Regions from separate parts of the Homo sapiens genome. Here regions 1, 2 and 4 are each linked to region 3. The links are contacts of gene promoters, found by promoter capture Hi-C in blood cells and fetal thymus (Javierre and others, 2016). All regions are on one chromosome and are shown on one strand. Each heading gives the region's core, a stretch centred on a gene start or on the middle of the fragment in contact. The rest is flanking DNA. Distances are from core to core; before and after follow the strand shown.

Region 1 (2,700 bases), core at 146-2,645, 860 kb before region 3:
GAACCATTCATGTAAATGTAAAGGCAAAGTGTTTTTGAACACAATGTTATGTATATTATCAGTTAATTAAAATTTCTGAACATCAAGTCCAGGCAACTTCCATTTTTACTCTCTGTGGATTTTGCAATTTTCCCAAGAGATGGAGGAAGGACAGGGGGTGGAGGTGGCTTTCCTTAGTGTATGTAACTAAGTGCACTTAGCTTCGAGACAGGAGAGATTGGAGAAAAGGATCAAGTTATAATAATAGCTACAATTTACTGAACACTTACTGTTGACCCAGCACAAGAGCTTTACCCGGGTTATTTCATTTAAACTCCACAACAGCCCTATGAAGCTGGTGTAGTAGTACATCTACCACAAATACAAGAAAGCAAAATGTTCCTCAAATGCTCCCGTTACAGCCCTAAATACAAAGAACCGAGAAGATAGTCCATAAGACACAGAATAAAATATCTTTCCCCAGCATAAGGACATTATACCAAGAGAGGCAGAAATGATTATATATATATTTTTTCTTTTTTTTTGAGATGGAGTCTCGCTCTGTTGCCCAGGCTGGAGTGCAGTGGCGCAATCTCGGCTCACTGCAACTTCCCCCTCTAGGTTCAAGCAATTCTTCTGCCTCAGCCTCCCGAGTAGCTGGGATTACAGGTATGTGCCACCATGCCTGGTTAATTTTTTGTATTTGTAGTAGAGATGGGTTTTCACCATGTTGGCCAGGTTGGTCTTGGGACTCCTGACCTCGGGTGATCTGCCCGCCTTGGCCTCCCAAAGTGCTAGGATTACAGGCGTGAGCCACCATGCCTGGCCTGGTCATAATTGTTTATGTGGTTTGTGTGTGTGTGTACGCCTCCAAGAGTAGTTCTTGTGAACAGAAAATATTGTTTTGATGCTATTTTTAGAATATTTGATTTGTTAAAGTTACAAGTTTAAGAGTATAATTATTCCTTAGTTTTTAAAGTTTTCCTAACTCTGTGGAAAAAATTTTTCTTCTGCTCTCACTCCGTAGTCAACATGGAAGGCTTCTGTGACCAAAGGTGTGGAGGTTTCTCCCCACACACCAAGCAACCAGTTAATTCTGCAGCTGTCACCAGCTGGGTGTTCTCCACCACAGTTCAATTCCTCTTTTTTTTTTTTTTGAGATGGAGTCTCACTGTTGCCCAGGCTGGAGTGCAGTGGCACAATCTTGGCTCACTGCCACCTCTGCCTCCCGAGTAGCTGGGATTACAGGCATGGGCCACCACGCCCAGCTAATTTTGTATTTTAAGTAGAGACGGGGTTTCACCATGTTGGCCAGATTGGTCTCGAACCCTTGACCTCAAGTGATCCAACCTCCTTGGCCTCCCAAAGTGCTGGGATCACAGACATGAACCACTGCGCCCGTCCCCGGTTCAATTCTGACACCACCTACCTGGAGACAGTGTCAGATCCAACAGGTTGAGGGCTCAATCCCACAAGATTGCCTCCTCCCACTTCTGATGACAATTGCAAGCTCCGCTCAGGCGGTTTTACCTGTGTTTCTGACTGATCAGCTATAAATTGGGGATCCCATGACCCCCTCCTTAGGTTCAAATAATTTGCTAGAGTGGCTCACAGAACTGTGGGAAACAGATACATTTATCAGAAAGATGGTACAAAGGATACAGATGAAGTGATGCATAGAGCGAGGCATGGGGGAAGGGGCATGGAGCTTCCATGCCCTTCTCAGGTGGACCACCCTCCATACACCTGTAAATGTTCAGCTATCCTGAAGCTCTCTGAACCCTGTCCTCTTGTGTGTTTATGGAGGCTTCATTATGTAGGCATGATTGATTAAACCATTGTTCATTGGTGATCAACTCAATCTTCAGCCCTTCCCCACCCCACAGAAATTGCGGAATGGGGCTGGAAGTACTGACCCTCTAATCAGGGTGTGGTCTTTCCAGTGACTAGCCCCTTCCTGAAGCTACCTAGGGGCTGCCAGCCACCAGTCAACTCATTAGCATACAAAAAAAATCACTTTGGAGATTCTAAGGATTTTAAGAATTTTATACCAGGAAATGGGGATGATGACCAAATACATATTTTACAATATCACACGTGATCTTATTCCATTTATAACTCTAGCAAACTTTAACAACCAAAAAGGCATTTGATTAATGTTTGATCCCATTAACTTAATCACCTCTAAACATTTTAAACTTCATTCGTGAATTTAATATATTTGTTTCCCTTGTAAAGGTCTTTAATTGTCTGATTAACAAGTAACTCAACATCTAATAAATTAAATTTATAAATGTGGTAAATCTTAAATTGTAGTGAGTGTTCCAACACTTTATTAAGTTAATAAGACTATCTTCAACTCATTAGTATCCAGCTATTAAATTACACATTTTAAAACTTAAAGTACAAGGCAAATGGTTACTCCAGTAGGCCAAGTTGTCTTACACATTAACATGCACATAGAATTCCAAATGTGCCCAGATTCCTTAAAACAAAATATTAATATTTCAGGCTTGAATCTTTCACACATCTCATACTCAATTTTCAGTCTTCTCAGGGTTAAAATGCTCATCTATTAAGAATTTTGATGTTTGTTTTTAAAAGCAATGTTATGGTGATCTTCTCAGTAGGCAGAGTTTCTTTCTTTTTTTTTTGTTTGAGAGAGAGAGTCTCACTCTGTCACCCAGGCTGGAGTGCAGTAGCGGGATCCTGGCTCACTGC
Region 2 (2,700 bases), core at 157-2,656, 990 kb before region 3:
AATCACCTTTCTTCATCCTCTTTGCCACCCCAACCCATCTTCCAAGGCTTAACACAGAGGAAGCAACTTTCCTCTGCTCCCCTGTTTCTGCTCCCCTGGTCCCCATTCTTTTCTCTTCTTACTACACTAGCCCAGGAGAGAGATGAGAAAGCCAGGTGGAGGGAGGGGCCTTTTAAAACAAGTCTTGCTCAACTTTTTACACAACTGCCCATTCTCAGTTGGGCATCCCCTCCTGTCCCCTTTTCTTCCAAGGAAGGGAGCTAAGGTTAGTAAAACCTACCCTTGCAAGGCCCAGTGCTGGGTACTGTGCATGGACAAAGGTGAACCAAACAGGTTCCTTGTCCTCAAGAATTTACAATGGGCAAATCAGACCGATTCTCATCTACAACACAGAGTTGAATGGGCCAACTGTTACAATGTTGGCAAACGGAGAAATCACGGTGCAACAGATGGGGGAGAGATTAATGCCAACTGGTGAAAATTCAGAGGATGTAGCTTTGGAGCTAAGCCTTGAGGGTGAGTAACACAAACAATGGGTAGCAGGGAGCACTTCCTACCCATGCAGTGCTGTGGTCGGTGGTTTACATGCATTATCTCATTTGGGGCTCACAAAAGGTCTGCTGGGGAGGTGCTATTATTAGTCTCATTTTACAGTGAGAAAACTGAGGCACAGAGAAAAGGAGAGATTTGTCCAAGGTCGCCCCTCAAGTGGAGGGGGGACTTGAACTCACTCAGGGTAACTGTAGAGCTGGTGCTGTCAACCCTCAAGGAAACAACGGATAAGGAGCAAAGGATACCGAGAGGAGGTCTAGCACTATGCAGAGCACGCCCAGAGAAGAGAGAGGGGTCTGTGAGGCTGGGACTGGGGTGTGCGGAGTGGTGGGATGACTGATCCCAATGGCAACGGTGGAATTTATATGTGAAACTCCGAACTTTACACGAAATATTTCATCTGACCTCAACACATCCCTGTTTGACAGGCTCTATGATCCCCATTTTACAGATAGCGGAACTGAGACAGAGAGGTTACTCTTGCCCACTCTGCCCGCCAAGTGTCCTCACGTTGGGGTGGAAGCCCGTTGCAAGCTGCCAGGCCCCTCGTAGCTGCCCAGTCACTCTCCGCCCAGTCTACACATCCTGTCCCTTCCCACCCAGCTACCCACCACCTAGCCCTCCACCCCAACTCCCGCCCTTGGCTTTCAGCAAGGATGGCCCAGCTCACGGCCACAGGGTGGCAAGGGGCCACTTGGTGCCCAGAACAACTTCTGCTCCCAGAAAGCCTTGCGTTCCCCGGACATAAAGAGGCTTTGAGCTCGGGGAGCCCCGCCCCGTGCGGCCCCTCCCACGGGCGCGGGCCCCGGGCGGCAGGGGGCGTGTTCCTGTCGGCTGCGCCCGCGGCCGGGGGCGGAGCTTGGCCACCGCGCCGGGCTGCGGGCGGCTGGGCGAACGGGCTCGGCGCTCAGGTGGCTCCTTCTTCGCTTCTCCCGATCCCCGGCGGTGCCAGGCACGGTGCCGGCTGCCGAGGGAACGCCTTTGTGCCCGGTGCTGGGAACCCGCGACGGCCGCCACGCGCCCCGGTCCATTGTTTCGCTTATCTGGGTTCCAGGCAGGTGCGGGCGGCGCGCGGGGTCCGCACGTGTCACCCCGGCGGCTGGGGCGCCGGGACCCGCGGGCGCCGGCAGGGGCGTTCCCGGGCGCGCGGCGGCGATGAAGCACCTGAAGCGGTGGTGGTCGGCCGGCGGCGGCCTCCTGCACCTCACCCTCCTGCTGAGCTTGGCGGGGCTCCGCGTAGACCTAGATCTTTACCTGCTGCTGCCGCCGCCCACCCTGCTGCAGGACGAGCTGCTGTTCCTGGGCGGCCCGGCCAGCTCCGCCTACGCGCTCAGCCCCTTCTCGGCCTCGGGAGGGTGGGGGCGCGCGGGCCACTTGCACCCCAAGGGCCGGGAGCTGGACCCTGCCGCGCCGCCCGAGGGCCAGCTGCTCCGGGAGGTGCGCGCGCTCGGGGTCCCCTTCGTCCCTCGCACCAGCGTGGATGCATGGCTGGTGCACAGCGTGGCTGCCGGGAGCGCGGACGAGGCCCACGGGCTGCTCGGCGCCGCCGCCGCCTCGTCCACCGGAGGAGCCGGCGCCAGCGTGGACGGCGGCAGCCAGGCTGTGCAGGGGGGCGGCGGGGACCCCCGAGCGGCTCGGAGTGGCCCCTTGGACGCCGGGGAAGAGGAGAAGGCACCCGCGGAACCGACGGCTCAGGTGCCGGACGCTGGCGGATGTGCGAGCGAGGTAGGTGCAGAGCGGGAAGCGAGCGAAGTGCGGCGTCTACGCCGCCGGGAGCCCCCGAGGCTTGTGTCGGATCTGAGCAGGGGCCACTCTCGCTGTGTCCTGGCACCCTTAGCCCCTGGTCTTTGCAGGTTCGCAGATGCTGCTGCTCTGATTCCGAATGAAGGGCTACTAGTGCTGTCGCTGTGGTTTTTAGGTGTTTAAGGAAGAAGTGGACGAAATCATCCGTTTGGTTATAGAGAATACCTTTCCTTGTGTGTGATGGCTGGCAAGAGTAGTTCGGGGATGGGGAGGGGAGAAGCAATGCCCACTGTCTTCGCTCAGTACCTCATGTACACTGGGGTGTCGTTCTCTGGGACCCGTGCCCGACCTGGACGATGTGAAGGAGGCCGTGACCTCTGGGAGGATGCATGTTTTTAAGAACGA
Region 3 (2,700 bases), core at 200-2,699:
TCTCTCTTCCTTTCTAGAAAGAAAACAATACGATTTGGACCCTGGGAACAATCTGCCCATCTGAGGCTGGGGCCGTGTCCCGGCGGACTCCGGCTTTCCCTGGCCCCTCTCCTGCCCCCTCCGCCCTGCCCCGGGCGCCCCGATCGGGAGGCACAGCCCTCCCAGGCTGCCCACCGCACAGAAACCCAGGAAGCAAGGCCCTTTCCTGAGCGCCCAAGTGGCCTTCGGGTCACCCTCCCTCAAAGTTCCAGCCCCGAGAGCCGCCTCCCGTTTCCAGCCTGCAGGGTTGGGGAGCCTGTTTTCTTTTTCTTCCCTTTCCTTCTCTCTCCCTCCTGCCCCCAAAATTCAGAATCCTGCAGGCTCTCGCCTCGATTCTTTCCCCCAAGCCCCTTTTCGGGGGCTGTAATTAGTAACGCTGTTTCCCCAGCGTAGCCCTCCTCATAAATTATCCGCCGTGACAAGCCCGATTCACGGCTGCTACAGCCATCCTCTACCTCTCTGCGCCTTGCTCGGCTGGCCTGACCCGGGAGCGCGTCCCAAGGCGTGGGGTTCCAGAGGGGTTTTTTGCTTCCTCCCCCTTCCAACGTCTAAACTGTCCCAGAGAACGCCCATTTCCCCCACTATTTGTGAGCGCAGGGTGCTCGCAAAGAAGAGGAGGAAGGAGGAAGGCAGGGGAGGGAGAACGGCAAGGAGAGCTCCGCAGGGCTGGGAGAAATGAGACCAAGAGAGACTGGGAGAGGGCGGCAGAGAAGAGAGGGGGGACCGAGAGCCGCGTCCCCGCGGTCGCGTGGATTTAGAAAAAGGCTGGCTTTACCATGACTTATGTGCAGCTTGCGCATCCAGGGGTAGATCTGGGGTTGGGCGGGCGGCGCCGGGCTCGGCTCGCTCTGCGCACTCGCCTGCTCGCTGCTGGCAGGGGCGTCCTCCTCGGCTCCGGACGCCGTGCCAACCCCCTCTCTGCTGCTGATGTGGGTGCTGCCGGCGTCGGCCGAGGCGCCGCTGGAGTTGCTTAGGGAGTTTTTCCCGCCGTGGTGGCTGTCGCTGCCGGGCGAGGGGGCCACGGCGGAGCAGGGCAGCGGATCGGGCTGAGGAGAGTGCGTGGACGTGGCCGGCTGGCTGTACCTGGGCTCGGCGGGCGCCGCGCTGGCGCTGGCAGCGTAGCTGCGGGCGCGCTCTCCGGAGCCAAAGTGGCCGGAGCCCGAGCGGCCGACGCTGAGATCCATGCCATTGTAGCCGTAGCCGTACCTGCCGGAGTGCATGCTCGCCGAGTCCCTGAATTGCTCGCTCACGGAACTATGATCTCCATAATTATGCAACTGGTAGTCCGGGCCATTTGGATAGCGACCGCAAAATGAGTTTACAAAATAAGAGCTCATTTGTTTTTTGATATGTGTGCTTGATTTGTGGCTCGCGGTCGTTTGTGCGTCTATAGCACCCTTGCACAATTTATGATGAATTATGGAAATGACTGGGACATGTACTTGGTTCCCTCCTACGTAGGCACCCAAATATGGGGTACGACTTCGAATCACGTGCTTTTGTTGTCCAGTCGTAAATCCTGCCTGATGACCTCTAGAGGTAAACTCGTGCACTAATAGGGGAGTTGGGTGGAGGCGAGGGGGGTGGCGCGCGCGCCCCGGGCGCGTGCCCGCCGCCAGTTGCCGCCGTTCAGCCGGACTCGAGCGCCACCCGCTGGAGGCAGGGCTCATCGCCCAGCTTCCGACCGGGGGCTGCAAGGGCCGGGGTCGAATTGAGGTTACAGCCCATTATGGCAAAATTATTGCATTTCCCTCGCAGTTCCATTAGGATGTACCAATTGTTAGGCCGTCAGCTGCCGATCGCGCGCCCGGCGAGGATGCAGAGGATTGGGGGGAGGTGGTGACTTGCATTTTATTTACAACAACTTTATTTCCCCCGTTTTGCAGCCCCTCTTATTTTTGTGTCGAGGTTGGGGTCGGTACTGACCGTCCTGCCAGCAGCTCTGAATTTTGAAAATACAGATATCACCTTCGGGGAAGGGGGAAAGCCATTTAGCCAATTGGAGAAATAAATCCTGCCCGCAGCAGCAGCAGCTACAATTACGGCTCTGTTTTTGCGAGCGCATGAGGGACAGTGTCCCTGCCGCTCTTAAATGACAGGCGTCTATTAAAGATAGCTTTTGTGTAGTGTTTCTCCAAGGCGAGGTCAAATTCCATACACTTTTATAACCGTAGTCGATTTTTCTTTCGTGTGAATATGGTTTTCGTGTCATTAGTTTGCGATTTGATTTGCTTACGTATCCAGCCTGGAAAATCTTCATCACAGGGTCCGGTTCCTCGAGCCAGCCGGGCCCCAAGTCGGAGGGTTCTCCTTGAACCCAGCGAGTGGGCCCAGGCTCCCTGCAGCCACAGAGGCTGCCTGGGGTCTGGGGATCCGTGGGGCGGGTTACTGGGGTCTTGCTTAGACCTCCAGGAGTAAAATGAGGGCGATAATGGAAGCATTCCTTGGCAGTGCCTAGTATCTCTGTAGTTATTTTCCACGGCTCCGAAAGACTCAAGTAAATCACAAATATAGCTGAGAGGCAAGTGGAGTCTCCCCGCTGGAGGCCCGGCGTTGCAGGCGCCCCTGGCACGTCTGGAAGCCAGGACTCTGGCGGCTCCCATGGCCCTGGGCCCCTCGTTGGGTCCTGAACGCTGCTGTGGCGGCGACGCGGGCGCTATC
Region 4 (2,700 bases), core at 122-2,621, 950 kb before region 3:
TACTCTGTTAAATCCAGTATTCTGTACTTTTCCAGAGAAGCACGTACAAAGATATATCTAGATCCAATCATTTTGCTTGAGAAAAGATGAGATACTCTGATGGTTATCTTTACATTTTCATTTAAAATGGCACTCTATTCCTTAGGCTATAACAGCTAAGATGGCAAAACTACTTAGAAATAACTGGACCACTATCACCCAAGCCATTTATAGACACTAATATAAAATGTTTAAAAACTCAAAATATAAATGAAGTAAATATACGATATAGTTAAGTATTAGTCACATAAACAAACCAAAACGTAGAGGAAAACTGACCTCCAGGTCCTCCTCCATACCCATTATAGCCATCCCCAAATCCACGTCCACTGCCATATCCATCTGTTAGGGGCCAAAAAAAGATTACGTTTACTATAAACTGTTCAGCATTATTGCTAATATTCATTTTCAGTTCTCTTACTACCTCAGCACAATAATTAAGAACCGCAGAAAAGGACACACCAGTGCTACCAGTTTACCCACAAAACATGAAAGCATATAATTAAATCTACCGCCTAAATTTTGGACTCTTAACAAGTCTCAATCTTAGAGATTCCATCCTATTTATACGTAAGAATGACACTTGATGGGGGTCAAAGCTTTTCGGATGACACTTCATGTTACATTATTAATCCAGATAAATACAACTGTTATTAATACAACTCTATTAACTTCTTGTCTGGCCAAATCACAAGAGCTTGCCAGGATACAATCTATTTGAAGTCTTAGGAAAATTGACTTAGGTTGGATTTCTTGATTCTACTAATGAAAACCTAATCATATTTAAAATAAAAGCACACTCATCCTTTAAACACGTAGAACTTGAAACTCACCAGATCCTCCTCTAAAGTTACTTCCTGGTCCTGGTCCGAAATTTCCACCGCCACCACGTGAATCCCCAAAGCCAAAGTTGCCTACAATAAATGCCCCAGTTAGAAGCAAGCCCTTATATATGAACAAAAATAAAGAAGAAACAGAATTAAAATTACCTCCTCTTCCACTCCTAGAACTCTGAACTTCCTGCATTTCTTGTCTAGACAAAGCCTTTCTTACTTCTGCATTATGACCATTGATGGTATGGTATTTCTGCACTGGAATGAAAAATTCAGACTCCTTTTAAATTAAATCAACAATATTAAGCAGCTTCAAAAGTTTACCTTTCAATAAAGTTACAGATGTTAACATACACAAAATTGAATACACTGGAAAAAAACAGTACATTTGTGGTTAGACACTTACATACGATTTTATCCACAGGATCATGGTCATCAAAAGTAACAAAGCCAAAGCCTCTTTTCTTTCCAGACTGCCTATCAGTAATTATCTCAATGGTATCAATTTTTCCATATTCCTCAAAGTAATCTCTAAGGTGATGTTCCTCAGTATCTTCTTTAATTCCGCCAACAAACAGCTTCTTCACAGTTACATGAGCCCCTGGTTTTCCAGATTCCTAAAATAGTGGTGGGGTAAAAGTCATCCAAACAGAAAAAAACACAAGCATAATTCAAAGCACCCAACCGTAGTACCATACTTCGCTTGTATCCACCTTAAAACTACCAGATATAAAATAGCTTTTAGGGACCTAGCTTTTGAAAAATAAGCTAGCTTAAGAAAATGGTCCAGAAACCCAACACACCTTTAATAAGAGAAAAAATCTTGAGTTAAAACTAAATTCAGAAATAGTTTCTGATTTTCAGCAGGGCAGCGTTCTTCATGTTAATGCACAAGACAGTCATTGTTTGCTTACCTCTCTTGCTACAGCACGTTTTGGCTCAACTACTCTCCCATCAATTGAATGAGGTCTTGCAGCCATGGCAGCATCAACCTCAGCCATGGATGAAAAAGTTACAAAACCAAATCCTCTTGATCTTTTGCTTGCAGGATCCCTCATTACCTTTCAAACCAAAGGGTAAACTTTAGCATTTAATCTCATTATAGCTTATAAGTGAAGTCATAATAGAATTTTTTACTATGCTGATAGTTATTTCCTCCATGATTCACTTAACATACAGCTAAAAGACTAATATCCAGTAACAATTCAGTAATTTACATACCACACAGTCTGTAAGCTTTCCCCATTGTTCGTAGTAGTTCCTCAAACTTTCTTCTGTGGTTTCAAAGCTTAAGCCACCAATAAAGAGCTTACGGAACTGTTCCTTTTCTCTCTGCAAAGGAAAATACCATTTCAATTTTTATTTACATTTTCCTCTTTGTATGCAGGAAATTAAATTCTTAAATATGAGGTGACCTGCTGGCAGAGTACCTTTTTCCTCTCCAAAGGAACAGTTTCTAAAGTTTTCTGGGGGGAAAAAAAAAACTTACATCAAATTTAAACCATATGTTAAACTGCATATTAGTTGTGTTACACCAAAAAATTGCCTCAGCTGATCTACACAAGTTTCAAAGTCATTAATGCTTGATATAAATTTACTCAACATTAAATTATCTTAAATTATTAATTAAAAAAAAAACTTTCTAAGGAAAAATAAACAAATGTAGACCGTGATTATCAAAGGATTATTAAAGAATCTTTACCAAAAATTTCAACCCTACAACCTAAAAACGCAAATTTCTATTTTTAAACATCAGAAAATAACTCTTGGTTCATTACTTATGACCCAAAGTTTTTATTTCACTATTCAATATCTGAAAAGTATCATT

Evidence for each region. The method cuts DNA at HindIII sites, captures the fragments that hold promoters and counts their contacts. A CHiCAGO score of 5 or more calls a contact.
Region 1: a fragment that was not itself captured here is called in contact with the fragment with the promoter of HOXA5 in region 3 in 1 of 17 cell types (neutrophils); the score reaches 7.2 in neutrophils.
Region 2: the fragment with the promoter of NFE2L3 here is called in contact with the fragment with the promoter of HOXA5 in region 3 in 2 of 17 cell types (endothelial precursors and erythroblasts); the score reaches 6.6 in endothelial precursors.
Region 4: a fragment that was not itself captured here is called in contact with the fragment with the promoter of HOXA5 in region 3 in 1 of 17 cell types (endothelial precursors); the score reaches 6.1 in endothelial precursors.

What each region holds. Positions count from the first base shown.
Region 1 is chr7:26,287,178-26,289,877 of GRCh38, forward strand. No RefSeq gene overlaps it. Among named protein-coding and RNA genes, the nearest start is that of SNX10, 3.3 kb to the right of the region's middle. The HindIII fragment of the contact is 6,235 bases long and covers 1-2,700 here.
Region 2 is chr7:26,150,792-26,153,491 of GRCh38, forward strand. NFE2L3 (NFE2 like bZIP transcription factor 3) reads left to right here and starts at 1,407. Exons shown (of 4, transcript NM_004289.7): 1 at 1,407-2,277. The coding sequence starts at 1,708. RefSeq lists silencers at 1,196-1,575, 1,596-1,665, 1,676-1,745, 1,856-2,105, 2,116-2,185 and enhancers at 1,367-2,161, 2,162-2,700, 2,306-2,495. The HindIII fragment of the contact is 3,470 bases long and covers 1-2,700 here.
Region 3 is chr7:27,142,232-27,144,931 of GRCh38, forward strand. It overlaps HOXA5 (homeobox A5), which reads right to left and starts at 1,450. Exons shown (of 2, transcript NM_019102.4): 1 at 815-1,450. The coding sequence starts at 1,376. The region is part of intron 1 of HOXA3 (homeobox A3); the gene reads right to left. All of the region lies in intron 1 of HOXA-AS3 (HOXA cluster antisense RNA 3), which reads left to right. The HindIII fragment of the contact is 13,335 bases long and covers 1-2,700 here.
Region 4 is chr7:26,195,529-26,198,228 of GRCh38, forward strand. HNRNPA2B1 (heterogeneous nuclear ribonucleoprotein A2/B1) reads right to left here. Exons shown (of 11, transcript NM_002137.4): 2 at 2,094-2,204; 3 at 1,787-1,933; 4 at 1,279-1,489; 5 at 1,029-1,130; 6 at 873-953; 7 at 319-381. Among named protein-coding and RNA genes, the nearest start is that of HNRNPA2B1, 3.9 kb to the right of the region's middle. The HindIII fragment of the contact is 1,470 bases long and covers 637-2,106 here.